Linked DNA regions of Homo sapiens: regions 1 and 3 are each linked to region 2. Evidence: promoter capture Hi-C in human tissues and cell types (Jung and others, 2019). All regions are on one chromosome and are shown on one strand. The core of a region is centred on a gene start or on the middle of the fragment in contact, and the rest is flanking DNA. Distances in the headings are between cores, read along the strand shown.

Region 1 (4,026 bases), core at 1,293-3,792, 160 kb after region 2:
TTCCAGTCTCAAATTATGTTTCACTTATGAGGAGCATATGTCTAAGACAGCAAGTGTTAACACCTAATGTTAAACATTAGGCAGCAAAGTGGTAGATTGGGAGCACTGTGCTAGGGTTACAAGACCTCGCCTTAACCTAACTCCAACCCTTATTTACTGTGTGACCTTGGACAAATCACTAAGCCTCTCTGAGCCCCAATTCCTTAACTTGTTAAGTGGATATTATCTCCTGGGGTTGTTAAATAAGGATTGAATGAGCAAAGTTATAAGCTGCTATATTGATTTTATTTTCTGAGTGGGCAGTGTTTTATGTTATTTGGTCTTTTGTGGATCCTATTCCTTGAACTAGAAATACTATTCTCTTTTCCTTATTTGAAAACTCTTTTTCTTATGCTTAAGGTTGGTCTTAAGCCTTTTCTCCTCTGTGAAATCTTCCTTCTGTGACATCTCCTGGCAGAGTTTGTTTATACCTTGGGTGTATTTCTATACATATACCATATTGTATTTCATTCATCTGACATAAGTACCTCCAGCCAAATCAGTGCTTTCTCAGTGGGGAGGTACTGTCTTACCTAGGGATGTGTATCGTAATCTCAGGGTGGGACGGAATCGTGTAGGTTGGGGCAATGCGTACCATTTACAAAATATAACATACAGGGAGAATTCTACCTTGTTATCAGAGTAGCCACAGTATTTAATTTATTTAAGGATTCTAAATGACGAAGGTATGAGATTTTTATATTTATTAAAAGTAGACATGGTTTGAAAAAAAGATTGGGAGTAGTATCTTGTGTACTGGGAATATGTCTTATTTATCATTTTATTCCTCGCATTTACCATGGTGCCTGGCACATAATATGTAACCAATCATTGTATGTGGAATCGAAGTAATAAAGGGGTGTTTTCCTAAGAAGAGTTTGGTCATAAAAACAATTTTGAGTTTCCTCCCTCGCTGTCTTTTTTTCTGTTCCATCACTCTTTCATTTCCTCCTTATTTACTCAGAGAAAATGTCATTTTGTGGTTGATTAATCAAAATTGAACATAATTTAAGACTTTCCATAAAATCCCATGAAGATTTTACAATGGGTACTGCATACAATATATATTTTTCTAATTCCTCCTGTTTCTGTGGTATCTGGGAATTTGATTATTGTCCGAAGGAGCTTGAAGGGAAGGGAACAATATTGTTCTGAGTGTTGTTTTCTGCTCTAGAGGACAATTTGGAGAGCTAGCATGGGTTCTTTAGGATCCAGGGTATCCTCTCCCCTGGCAAGTGCTAGATAAAGCATCAAATTCCTCACTTGCTCTCTCTGCTTTTTAAAATGACTCTGTGCTGATGATTTTACATCATTACCCTCTTTTCAACATGTTCTGTGCTAATATGTTGGTTCCTTTAGGATTATAGAATAAATATTTTACATTAATTGTACTTGAGACTGGCTTCTTTCTGGTAACTTTGATGAAGGCTCTTTTTAATTTCACTAGCGACAAGTCAGGTAAGTCCTTCGGATTGGATTTCCTAGAGGAAGTTAATTTTATTAGTAACATGAAAACCTCAAGCCTTTGGTTCCTTGCTTCCTAAACCTTGGGGCTTTTCTTACCTTTTGGCTTTTGGTCTTTATCCGCAGATTTCCTTAAGAAGATTTTTTTTTTTGTAGTAAGACCCAAAGCTCTTTTCCTGCCTTTCTAATAAAAGCAGCTTATTCATTATTTCTCTCAAGCTTTAACAAAAACTAAAATTTTCTCTTATCTTTTAAATGAGTGGATTAAAATTAATTATTTATATTTAGCCTTTTACTTTACAGTATTTATTGTCTTTACTCTGTGCAAAGCATCTGGGTATGTCCTTAATGGGATACAAAGATGTATGAAATATAGATGATTATGTATCTAAGCAATTTATATTTTAAGAGCAGCATAAAATAAGTATGTAAGAATAAATAAGATATCAAAAATATGAGAAAAGGACTCTTTGAGAATGGATATCACAGTTTTATTTTTGATAGGAAATTTTATTATTTGATAAGATGAAATTTCCGGGAAAAATGTTCATATTCATTCTTTGTTTTTCTTCTCAGATAATGGATCTGGATCTGGAGAAGGAGGTAAGTTTCAAGTACCTCTTAAAGGATATTTGCTTTTCTTTCTTTCTTTCTTTCTTTTTCTTTTTTTTTTTTTTTTTAAATCAGCTTTGAGATATAATTCACATACCATATAATTTGCCACTTGAAGTGTACAAATTCAGTGACTTTTAGTAAATTCACAGTTATATATTCATTAGGATATTCAGAGTTATATATTCATCACCACAGTCACTCTTAGAACATTTTAATAACCTCAAAAAGAAACCATGCACTCCTTAGCCATCACTCCTAACCCAACTCTCCCTCTCAGCTCTAGGCATTCTTGTTTCTTGCATTTTTCTCTGGAAGTTTATTGTCATACTAAGGGGAAGATGTTGTAGTTTCTGTTAAATTGAGGTTGCATCATCCCCACAAGTGATTTTAGCTTGGACCAGAGTATTTGTAACTCTTTCCCATACCTTGCTTTCAAGTTTTTGCTCATCAGGAATTTTCATGGTACAGGGTTAAAAACTCCAGAGGGAGTTGTGCATAGAAAAAGGAAGACTTGCCCAACAACTCTCGTGGAATTTAGAGTTTAATTTAAACCTTTAACAATTTCCTATCTATGTTTTTGATTTTATTTTACAAATATATGAATTATTTCTGTTGTTTAAAAGATTAATATTTGGTAATAGCATATAATGGAGTTTAAATGATCAGAATTGAGATTGACTAATCTATATCATAGTCTAATGAGGCTATAATTCTTAATGAGTATGTACTGTATACCAAATAATGTTTGAGATATTATGGGGTACACCAAAGAACACCCACTTCAGTACAATTCACACTTAATGCAAATGGAAACTACAGTTATGATCCTTTCAAAACTGCCTGAAACCTCACTCCATACGTCTACATTTCATAGAATCTTAAAATTTCAGAGTTGGAAGGGACTTTGAAGGTCTCCTGGAGAATAGGAGAACTGTCCTGAGGAGAAATTCAAGGATGACAGTTTCAGCTAAAAAAAAAAAAAATGATTAAAGCTTTCAAACAATAGAATTTGAAGTAGATGGACATGTTCAAGCAGAAGCTTTATAATCAGGTGTGAAGGATCAGATAATAAATTCCAGATCTTAGAGCTGGAACAGATTTTAGGCGATCATGTAGTCTAGCCCCTGTGGTCAGGTATTCAGTTAGGAAACTGTCATTGTCATTGTTCCTATATTAAAGAAGTGAGAGTTGATCTCAAGATTTGCTTATATAATACAATATTGGGCTGGGCGCAGTGGCTCATGCCTAAAATCCCAGAACTTTGGGAAGCTGAGATGGGAGGATCACTTGAGCCCAGGAGTTTGAAACCAGCCTGGGCAACATAGTGAGACCCTGTCTCTACCCCAAAAAAAAAAAAAAAAACAAAAGGCCGGGCACAGTGGCTCATGCCTGTAATCCCAGCACTTTGGGAGGCCGAGGCGGGCGGATCACCTGAGGTCAGGAGTTTGAGACCAGCCTGGCCAATGTGGTGAAACCCCGTCTCTACTAAAAATGCAAAAATTAGCCAGGCGTGGTGGTGGGCGCCTGTAATCCCAGCTACTCAGGAGGCTGAGGTAGGAGAATTGCTTGAACCCAGGAGACAGAGGTTGCAGTGAGCTGAGATTGCGCCACTGCACTCCAGCCTGGGGGACAGAGCGAGACTCCTTCTCAAAAAATAAAAAAATAAAAAAATTTAAAAAAGCCAGGTGTGGTGGTATGTAGTCTCAGCTACTTTGGAGGCTAAAGCGGGAGGATTGCTTGAGCCCAGGAGGTTGAGGCTGCAGTGAGTGGTGATCACGCCATTGCACCCTGTCTCAAACAAAACAAAACAAAAAATGCTGGATATCTTGCCCTGAGGATGTAGGTTGACCATTTTTAAAAAATTTTTTTTTGAGAGCATGAGTTAGAAGGGCTAAGTGGTTTGCCCCA
Region 2 (4,229 bases), core at 759-3,258:
CCAATTTCTATCTACAAAATAGGGATAATCATACACAATTGTAAAACACTCAGAACTGTGCCTGGTACATGGTTAAATACGTATGCTCAAAGCATAAACATGTGCGTGTCCCTCAAGTCTCAGGATCAGGACATACCAAGCCCGGTACTAGATGCATTGTGTACCTCAGTATACAATCTGCACAGAACCATGCAAGGTAGGTGGAACTAAACCCATTTTAACAATGTACCTCAGAAAAGTTTGGAAGTCACGCCTTTATCAAGAAGTTGAAAAGGGATTCATTCACAGAACTGAGCTCTGCAAAACCACCTTTAACATACCAGAATTAACCTGAAGACTGGAAGTCTTCGTGGCAAAACAGTTTGGCTTATTTCATTTGTCCCTATTACCAAATTTTCATCTCACCCACACCTCTAGTTACCTTAGTCTTAAAAAACAAAACAAAACAAAAAAAAAAGCTGGGGGTCGGTGGGTGGGTGGGTGGGAGGGAATAAGGCCTAAAAAGAAGGCCATGATACTCACCTGGCCTCTTTTAATACAAAAATGGTTTTCATTAATTAAGCAAGCACACTTTGTGAGCTTTTCCTACAATTTTATTACTAGCTGGTACTAGACACGAAAGTAAATGGTACAGGACATTCAGAAAAATTAACTCCCTTCCTCCTCCACTCCTGTGGGTTCTATTTAGCCATTAACCACCTGATAGATCTTCAACAGTCTACTGTCAACTTCATGCCATATTATCTATCGCTTTGTATTAGTCACATTAATGCTTTCTCTGTTAGGAAAATTAAGAAGGCTGATTGACCTTCCTTGACTTTTCAAACCTAGTAATATTATTACGGGATACAAAGCATTTTCATGCGAAGAACTCTCAAAGTTCTACTAGTAATTGACTTTAACTTATAACAAAGATTTTCATAACACAGCAAATCAAAAAGTCCCACTAAGCCACTTTTACAGTAGCCGGTTTTTAGCAAAAGGTAGGAACGCCAGTCTCAGAGGAGGAGCTCACATCACTAGTCCTTAGGTTTGCGATCCCCAATAGTTTCAAAGCTGAATGTCACACATTCCTACTGTAGGTCTTTTCTAATTCCAACAAAAGGCAGATCCTAGCGTTTTTAGGATTTCAATCGAACTAAATTCCAACTATAAATAGTTTGCCTGCCACCTTCTTACCCTTCCTCATTTCCACCTTCTTTTCCAAAAAAAATCAGAGAGAACGATCGTACTGCACTCGGCCTTTGATAATTTCCTCCCCAAACCCTTAAACTCATGAGTTCCTCCAAACTCCACTGAGGGGCCAACCAGAGGCGACAGACTTCCCAAAAAGCAAATGGCCCAGGCAGGGGCGACCCCAGAAAACTGGTAGTCCCCTTCCGCTCGCTTAACTCTCCCGCCTGGGCGACCAGAGGACGGAACAGGGGACGCCAGCTCATCCCCACTCCGTATTCGGTCCTGCATCCATCCCAGAGGCGAACACACCATGGGTTTTAGGAAACCATCGTTCCTCCTACTCCAAGGGACGCCGGCCAGGACCAGAGTCGGGGAAGTGGGGCCCGATTCACACACTCCGGGCTAAAACTCTCTCGGACCCGAAACCAGGCGAACCCGCCCAGTCACCTGAAGCTCCGCAAACGCCCTAGGGGGTCCCGCCCCCGCAGTGCCGGCCGCACACCCAGGCCCAGCTCGGAGGGACGCCGCGGCCCAGACCCGGGGGACGCAAATCGTGCACGGCCGACCCTGCCCGCTTGGGCCGCGGATCGGGGGGCGACGGCCCCACCACGCTCAGTCCCGCGCCCCGGGAGGACCCGGCCCGACGGGCGACGGCCGCTTACCTGAGGACCCGGCCGCGGCCGGGGCGAGAAGCCCGAGAAGACAAGCGAGGGAGCAGAAGCCCACGGGGCAACAGCGTGCGCCGCCGACCTCAGGCTCTAGCTCCCGGAGCGTGTTTTCAAATAGCCTCGTCCTCACGCGGCCGCGTCTCCTTCCGCCGCCCGGAAATCAGGGCCCCTCCCCCTCCCTGCTGTGCTCACGTGATCGCAGCCCGCAGCCGCGCGCAACCGGGGAGGCGGGAGCGGGAGCGGTAGGCCCCGCCCACAGAGGAGGGTACCCCGCCGGAAGCCCCCTGCTCTGTGGGAACCGGAGGGAGGACAGCGCGAGGTCCCCGGACAAAGCGTGGCGCATAAGTCCGGCCCGTAACTTGGTGGGCAGGCAACTTAGGGGATGTGGGCCTGGTTATAGCTGAGCATGCTTTTCTATTCCTCCCAGACCACAGTTCTTCAGACCTGGAGCCACTTTCAGAGAAGAGTATAAGTTGCACTGAATTGAAAAAGGGAAAAGTTTAGGACTGCAGAAGATGGAATTCCTGGGGACGTTAAACTGGGCTAAGATGGAGCAGATAAGATTTCCTTAATTAGAGCAAGACACACCTAGTATCTAGAGCCTGGAAGTCTTGGTCAAGGATTCTCCCTAACATCTCAGTTTCTCAGCACTAACATTCCTGCTACTAAAATGAAGTGAGAAATTAATTTCTGAAGTTAAGTAAAGAAATAAACTAAAATTCCTAGAAAAGAGGTAAGAAGAATGAGCCTTTGAAAAATGTCTTCACAAAGACTGGCATGATGGCATGGAAGAAAGAGCCCCAGGTAAGGACTTCAGACCTTGATTCAAATTTGTGTCTACACCTCACCAGATAATTAAGACTTAGTAAAGCTAGCGAAGATATTGACCCTCATTATATTGGGTGGGAATTCAAAGGAATGATGTCTAAATCCAGGGAGACCCAAGCACTGGAACTAAAACCATGCCTGTTCCATAATCGGAGATAAAGAGGCAGCGCTAGAAACCCTGACCTCCCTTTGCTGGCAATATGGCCACATCACCACAATCTGCCTGGAATCGACCATAACCATAAATATTTGGGAGTCATTGGCATTATGTGGCATTATATTCTGTTTAAAGCTATGAGACTAGATCAGAAGAGGAAAGATTTATTGCCAACCAGACAAGTCCCTGGAACTCCAAACTTGTATCCAACAGTTTTTTCAATGTTTCCTTCAGATATCCAGTATACATCTCAAGGTCAACTTGTCCAAAACAGAGCTACTGATGATTTTCCCCTTGAAATCTACTCTTCCTACAGCTTATTCATCTCAAATAGTAAGTCTGTCCTTGCAGTTACTCAAGCAGAAACCTTTGGGTTTTTGGTTTGGCCTCTTTGTTCCACACCTCACATCTAATCCATCTGGAGATTGACTCTACCTTTAAAGACATCCTAACTTTCACCAGTTAACACACCTCCCCTGCTACCATTCTGGTCCAAGCCGCTTCTTGATCACTGCAAAAAGCCTGCAAACACATCTTCCTGCTTCCCTTATTGTCCTTCTTCCCCCTACAGTCTGGTATCAGCAGAGCAGCTGTGTGATTATTTTAAGATCTAGGTTAGATCAGATCACTCTTTGGCTCAAAACCCTTTAATGGCTCCCTATTTCACTTCGAGTAAAACCCAGAGTCCTTTCTAGGGCCTTCCCTTAGGCTGTTCTTGCATGGCTATAAAGAAATACCTGAGACTGGGTAATTTACAAAGAAAAGAGGTTTAATTGGCTCATGATTCTGCTGGCTTTACAGGAAGCATTATGTTGGCATCTGCTTGCTTTTGGTGAAGTCTCAGGGAGCTTTCAATCATAGAAGGTGAAGGGGGAACAGGCATGTCACATGTTGAAAGCAGGAGCAAGAGAGAGAGCAAAAGAAAAGAGACAGAGAGAGAGAGAGGTGCCACACATTTTTAAACAGCCAAATCTGATGAGAACTCACTATCACTAAACAAGCACCAAGCCATGAGGGATCCACCCCCATGACCCAAGCATGTCCCACCAGGCCCCACCTCCAGCATTGAGGATTACAACACAACATGAGATTTGAGCAGGGACAAATATCCAAACCATATCAGTTCTCAAGCTCTTCCATATTCTGACACAGTCTCTTACCATCTGAGCACTCCTCCTTCCACTCTCCCCTTTTTTACTCTGCTCCAGTCACACTTGCTTCTTTGCCTTCCTCAAACACCAGTGACACACTCCTGCTTTTGGACCTTTTCTTTAGCTTTTCTGTCTGCCTGAAACACTCTTCCCCAATAAGTCCATGTGGCTAACTCCCTCTCCTCCCGAGTCCACTCAAATATCTTCTCAGGGAGCCCTACCCTGACCACCTCATTTAAAATAACAAAT
Region 3 (3,980 bases), core at 1,438-3,937, 220 kb after region 2:
TAGATCTGCGATCCATTTTGAGGCAATTTTTGTGTATGACACGAGGAAGAGGTCTAGCTTCATCCTTTTGTGTGTGGATATCCAGTTAGCACCATTTGTTGAAGAAACAGTTCTTTCCCCATTGAGTTATCTTAGCACCCTTGTCAAAACCAATTGACCATAGATGTATGGGTTTATTTCTAGGCTCTCCATTCTCTTCCATGATCCACATACCTGCCCACTGCTTGTTTTTTTTTGTTTGCTGGAAAGCGTAGAGCCCAATGTGAAATGTACTGGGAAGTGTCTAGGAACCTCAGGGACTGGATTGGTAGACTTGCAGCACCCCTGGATTTCCCTGTTTCCCTCCTCCCACATTTCTTTTTTGTTGTTTTAATGTGTGCTTTGCGATAAGCTGCCTCAAATTCTTTTCTTAATGAGTTGTGGGACATTCATAAATACTGTTTTTATACTTCAAATGTTTTATTAATCAGTTCTCACTGAAGGCTGGCTAATTTATACATTTCACTGCTGTCAGCTTAAAAATGTAAATTGTCTGTTAAGTGTCTTAAATATTTCTCCCTGTCAAATTATCATCAGCTGATGCAGTTGTCTTTTTATCTACTTTTAATTGGAATTCAGATAATTTCCAAGATTAGCACCTACAGCTTACCTCCTTGACTGCTTGACATTGTTTCTGTTATTAATAACTTATTTTCATCTTCCCCTTGCATCTTACATGTTTATATTTTATACACTGAAAAGTGTCTTGAATATAATTTGGTGCTATGTTCAGAGGACTGTAAATGTTTATACCTATTTTTTCAATAGTCTTAATTTTCAGGTACTTAGCCCTAAGGAATAACACTAAATATAGAAAAGCGCATATTCACCAAGATGTTTACCACATCTAATTTATAATTGTGAAAAATTGAAAATAACTGACATGTCTTAGAACTGGGAATAGATAATGCTAGCTATATTATAGTCACTGGATGGAGTATTATATTTCTGTTTTGAAATTATATGTATCTATTTTGAAAAAAATGCTAAGAGAGTAGATTTTAAGTGTTCTCACCACAGACATGATAACTATATGAGGTAATGCATATGTTAATTAGCTTGATTTAGCCATTCCACAATGTCTATACATTTCCAAATATCATGTTGTACATCAGTGGTCCCCAACCTTTTTGTTGCCAGGGACTAGTTCCGTACAAGACAGTTTTTCCATGGACTGGGGATTGGGGGTGGGGGTGATGGTTTGGGGATGATTCAAGTGCATTACATTTATTGTGCACTTTATTTCTATTATTATTACATGGTAATACTTAATGAAATAATTATACAACTCACCATAATGTAGAATTGGTGGGAGCTCTGAGCTTGTTTTTCCTGCAATTAGACAGTCCCATCTGGGGGTGATGGGGGACGGTGACAGATCCTTAGGCATTAGATTCACATAAGGAGCACTCAACCTAGATCCCTTGTGTGCGCAGCTCACAATAGGGTTTGCGCTCCTATGAGAATCTAATGCCAGTGCTGATCTGACAGGAGGCGGAGCTTGGGTGGTAATGTGAGTGATGGGGAGTAGCTGTAAATACAAAGAAGCTTTGCTTACTTGCCCACCACTCACCTCCTGCTGTGTGGCCTGGTTCCTAACAGGCCATGGACCAATATCTGTCCATGGCCCGGGAGTTGGGGGGGATCCCTGTTGTACATGATAAATATACGTAATTTTATTTGTCAATTTTTAAGCAAATTTAATTTAAAAAGTGAAAAAAAGGAGTAAATCTTTGTGGCTTTAGATTAGGCAATAATTTCTTAGATATGACACCAAAAGCAAAAGCAACAATAACAAAAAAAGATATACATTAACAATATTCAGCAACTTTAAAATTAATGTGATATAACTTAGGTGAAAGACGCACCATGTAGGCATATCAGAAAGACAGTAGGGAAACATACAAATGACATTTTTCCCCCAGATGGTAGGAAAGTGCATGATATCCTATTCCTGTTTAAATTTTATTACTATTTTGTATTTTTTAATGTAAAAGCTTGGGAGTATCAAAATTTGTAATTTTCATAGGAATATATATATTTTTCCTTTTCAGATGTGAATCTGGCTACACTGGACAGCACTGTGAAAAGACAGACTTTAGTATTCTCTATGTAGTGCCAAGTAGGCAAAAGCTCACTCATGTTCTTATTGCAGCAATTATTGGAGCTGTACAGATTGCCATCATAGTAGCAATTGTAATGTGCATAACAAGGTAGGTAATGATGTAAGAAATATCAACTTTAAATTAGAGGCAGGCAACTGTTTATTTATAGATGCTTTGAGGCCACCAGTCTATTAGGAAAAATCTTATGATCAGTTCCCTGAGGTTTTCAGTGGTCTCTCCCTATCCTTCTTCTTTAGGATACGGGCAGGGACTAATTCCCAGTCTTACAGGTATATCTGGGCGACAAGCAGAGAGGGAATGAGAATAGTCAATGAGATAAAGGAATTTAGGGATCTGAGAACTGTATACAGTCTTTGAACACTGTATTCTGGGAAAATAATGTTAGTAGCAATCTTTTTTTTTTTTTTTTAAGAGACAGGGCCTCACTCTGTTGCCCAGGCTGGAGTGCAGTAGCAATTAGAGCTCATTGCAGCCTCAAATTCCTGGGCTCAAGTGGTCCTCCAGAGTAGCTGAGACTATAGGCGTGAACCACCCTGACTGGCTCAGAATTTCTAGAATGATCTGCACATGCATAGGAGATCCATGCAGAAGATTTTTAAGCCCTGCACAACTGCAAGGGGTTCTGTGCCCTAAGAACGTACTTTACTCACAGTTAGTATAGTAAGAAAGGAAGAAATCAGAGGCTGAAGATAGTTTTATTGTGATATCATGGTGTTAACATTACTTCATTTTCAGGATTGCAGCGATAAGTAATAAGCTTTAAAATTCTGTATTATAAATAAAATTATTCGTCATAAATTAAATGACTTATTTGGAGTGCAGTGGCATAAAATGGGTCTTTTCTAAACTGAGTAGAAATACATAAGTCAGACTGAACTGGGCCTGAGAAAAGTCAGAGTAAATCCAGCAAGTTCGTGTTGTCTTTGTGCTTCCCAGTCTAATGCTTTTCTTCCTGCTTACCTCTTTCTTTAAGCTTCAGTTCAGAAGTCTCATAAGCATCATTTCTCCACTTCCCTGCATTATTCTGGGCAGAGGGTTGAAGCATATCAAATACAGATATTGGCAGGCCATAATGGATTTGTGGCCCTTCTATCCAAGGTCTGGATAGAAGCCAGACCTTCAGTAGTCTCAGCCATCTGGAGCTGAGATGATAAATCTAGAAATGATAAAAAAGAAAAGGTTCTCCAAGTAACAGATATTTTTCATAACACCTAGGCATGAAAGTCAGTGCGCTTTATTTCACAGAACAGATGATCTGCCCTTAGGCAAGACTACTGAATATAAAATTGGACGGTAGATCAAAGTAGGGACATAATCATGTAACAAATAATGATAACAGAAAGAGAAGATAGGGAAAACACATTTAACAGCATGACTGGCTGTAGCCATTTAATATAGACTCAGAGGTTAAGTAATTTGTCTGTGGTCATCCGACTAGTAAGTGGAATTGTCTGGATTTGGATTCAGTTTGATTCCCATTCATTCTTTACACTGAAAGGTTCCATGTTGAGTCATCTTGGGAAACATGTTTGCCCAGTATGACCATTGCATGGGAGCAGGGTTCAAACTTGATTTTGTAGCAGTTTAGGGTTTTTGAGCAGGGGAAGGACTTGGTATAAACCATATTTTTCAGAGTATTAATGAGTCATCTGAAAAATTCATTGGAGTAGTGAACATATGAGGTAGGGGGAAGACCATTTAAGTCATTATTAGAGTTAAATAGGAGTGAGGTAATGAATGATTTGGAAGGCAGAAGGAAAATTAAGGTAAAGTAAGGGGAGATGTTTGAGGCCTGGAGATAGTGCCTTTATTTGA

Evidence for each region. Contacts are between HindIII fragments. The study calls those that stand out against the background at their distance.
Region 1: a contact is called between a fragment that was not itself captured here and the fragment with the promoter of TEX10 in region 2, in 1 of the 25 tissues and cell types used here (mesenchymal stem cells).
Region 3: a fragment that was not itself captured here is called in contact with the fragment with the promoter of TEX10 in region 2 in 1 of the 25 tissues and cell types used here (dorsolateral prefrontal cortex).

The regions. Positions count from the first base shown.
Region 1 is chr9:100,511,228-100,515,253 of GRCh38, forward strand. It overlaps MSANTD3-TMEFF1 (MSANTD3-TMEFF1 readthrough), which reads left to right. Exons shown (of 10, transcript NM_001198812.1): 4 at 2,080-2,106. It overlaps TMEFF1 (transmembrane protein with EGF like and two follistatin like domains 1), which reads left to right. Exons shown (of 10, transcript NM_003692.5): 4 at 2,080-2,106. Among named protein-coding and RNA genes, the nearest start is that of TMEFF1, 40 kb to the left of the region's middle. RefSeq lists enhancers at 3,155-3,655, 3,656-4,026. The HindIII fragment of the contact is 4,141 bases long and covers 473-4,026 here.
Region 2 is chr9:100,350,934-100,355,162 of GRCh38, forward strand. TEX10 (testis expressed 10) reads right to left here and starts at 2,009. Exons shown (of 15, transcript NM_017746.4): 1 at 1,839-2,009. It overlaps LOC105376177 (a long non-coding RNA gene), which reads left to right and starts at 2,117. Exons shown (of 4, transcript NR_188642.1): 1 at 2,117-2,648; 2 at 3,064-3,162. RefSeq lists enhancers at 1,248-1,297, 1,702-2,336 and a silencer at 1,638-2,187. The HindIII fragment of the contact is 15,352 bases long and covers 1-4,229 here.
Region 3 is chr9:100,570,425-100,574,404 of GRCh38, forward strand. It overlaps MSANTD3-TMEFF1 (MSANTD3-TMEFF1 readthrough), which reads left to right. Exons shown (of 10, transcript NM_001198812.1): 9 at 2,094-2,252. It overlaps TMEFF1 (transmembrane protein with EGF like and two follistatin like domains 1), which reads left to right. Exons shown (of 10, transcript NM_003692.5): 9 at 2,094-2,252. Among named protein-coding and RNA genes, the nearest start is that of CAVIN4, 5.7 kb to the right of the region's middle. The HindIII fragment of the contact is 5,125 bases long and covers 126-3,980 here.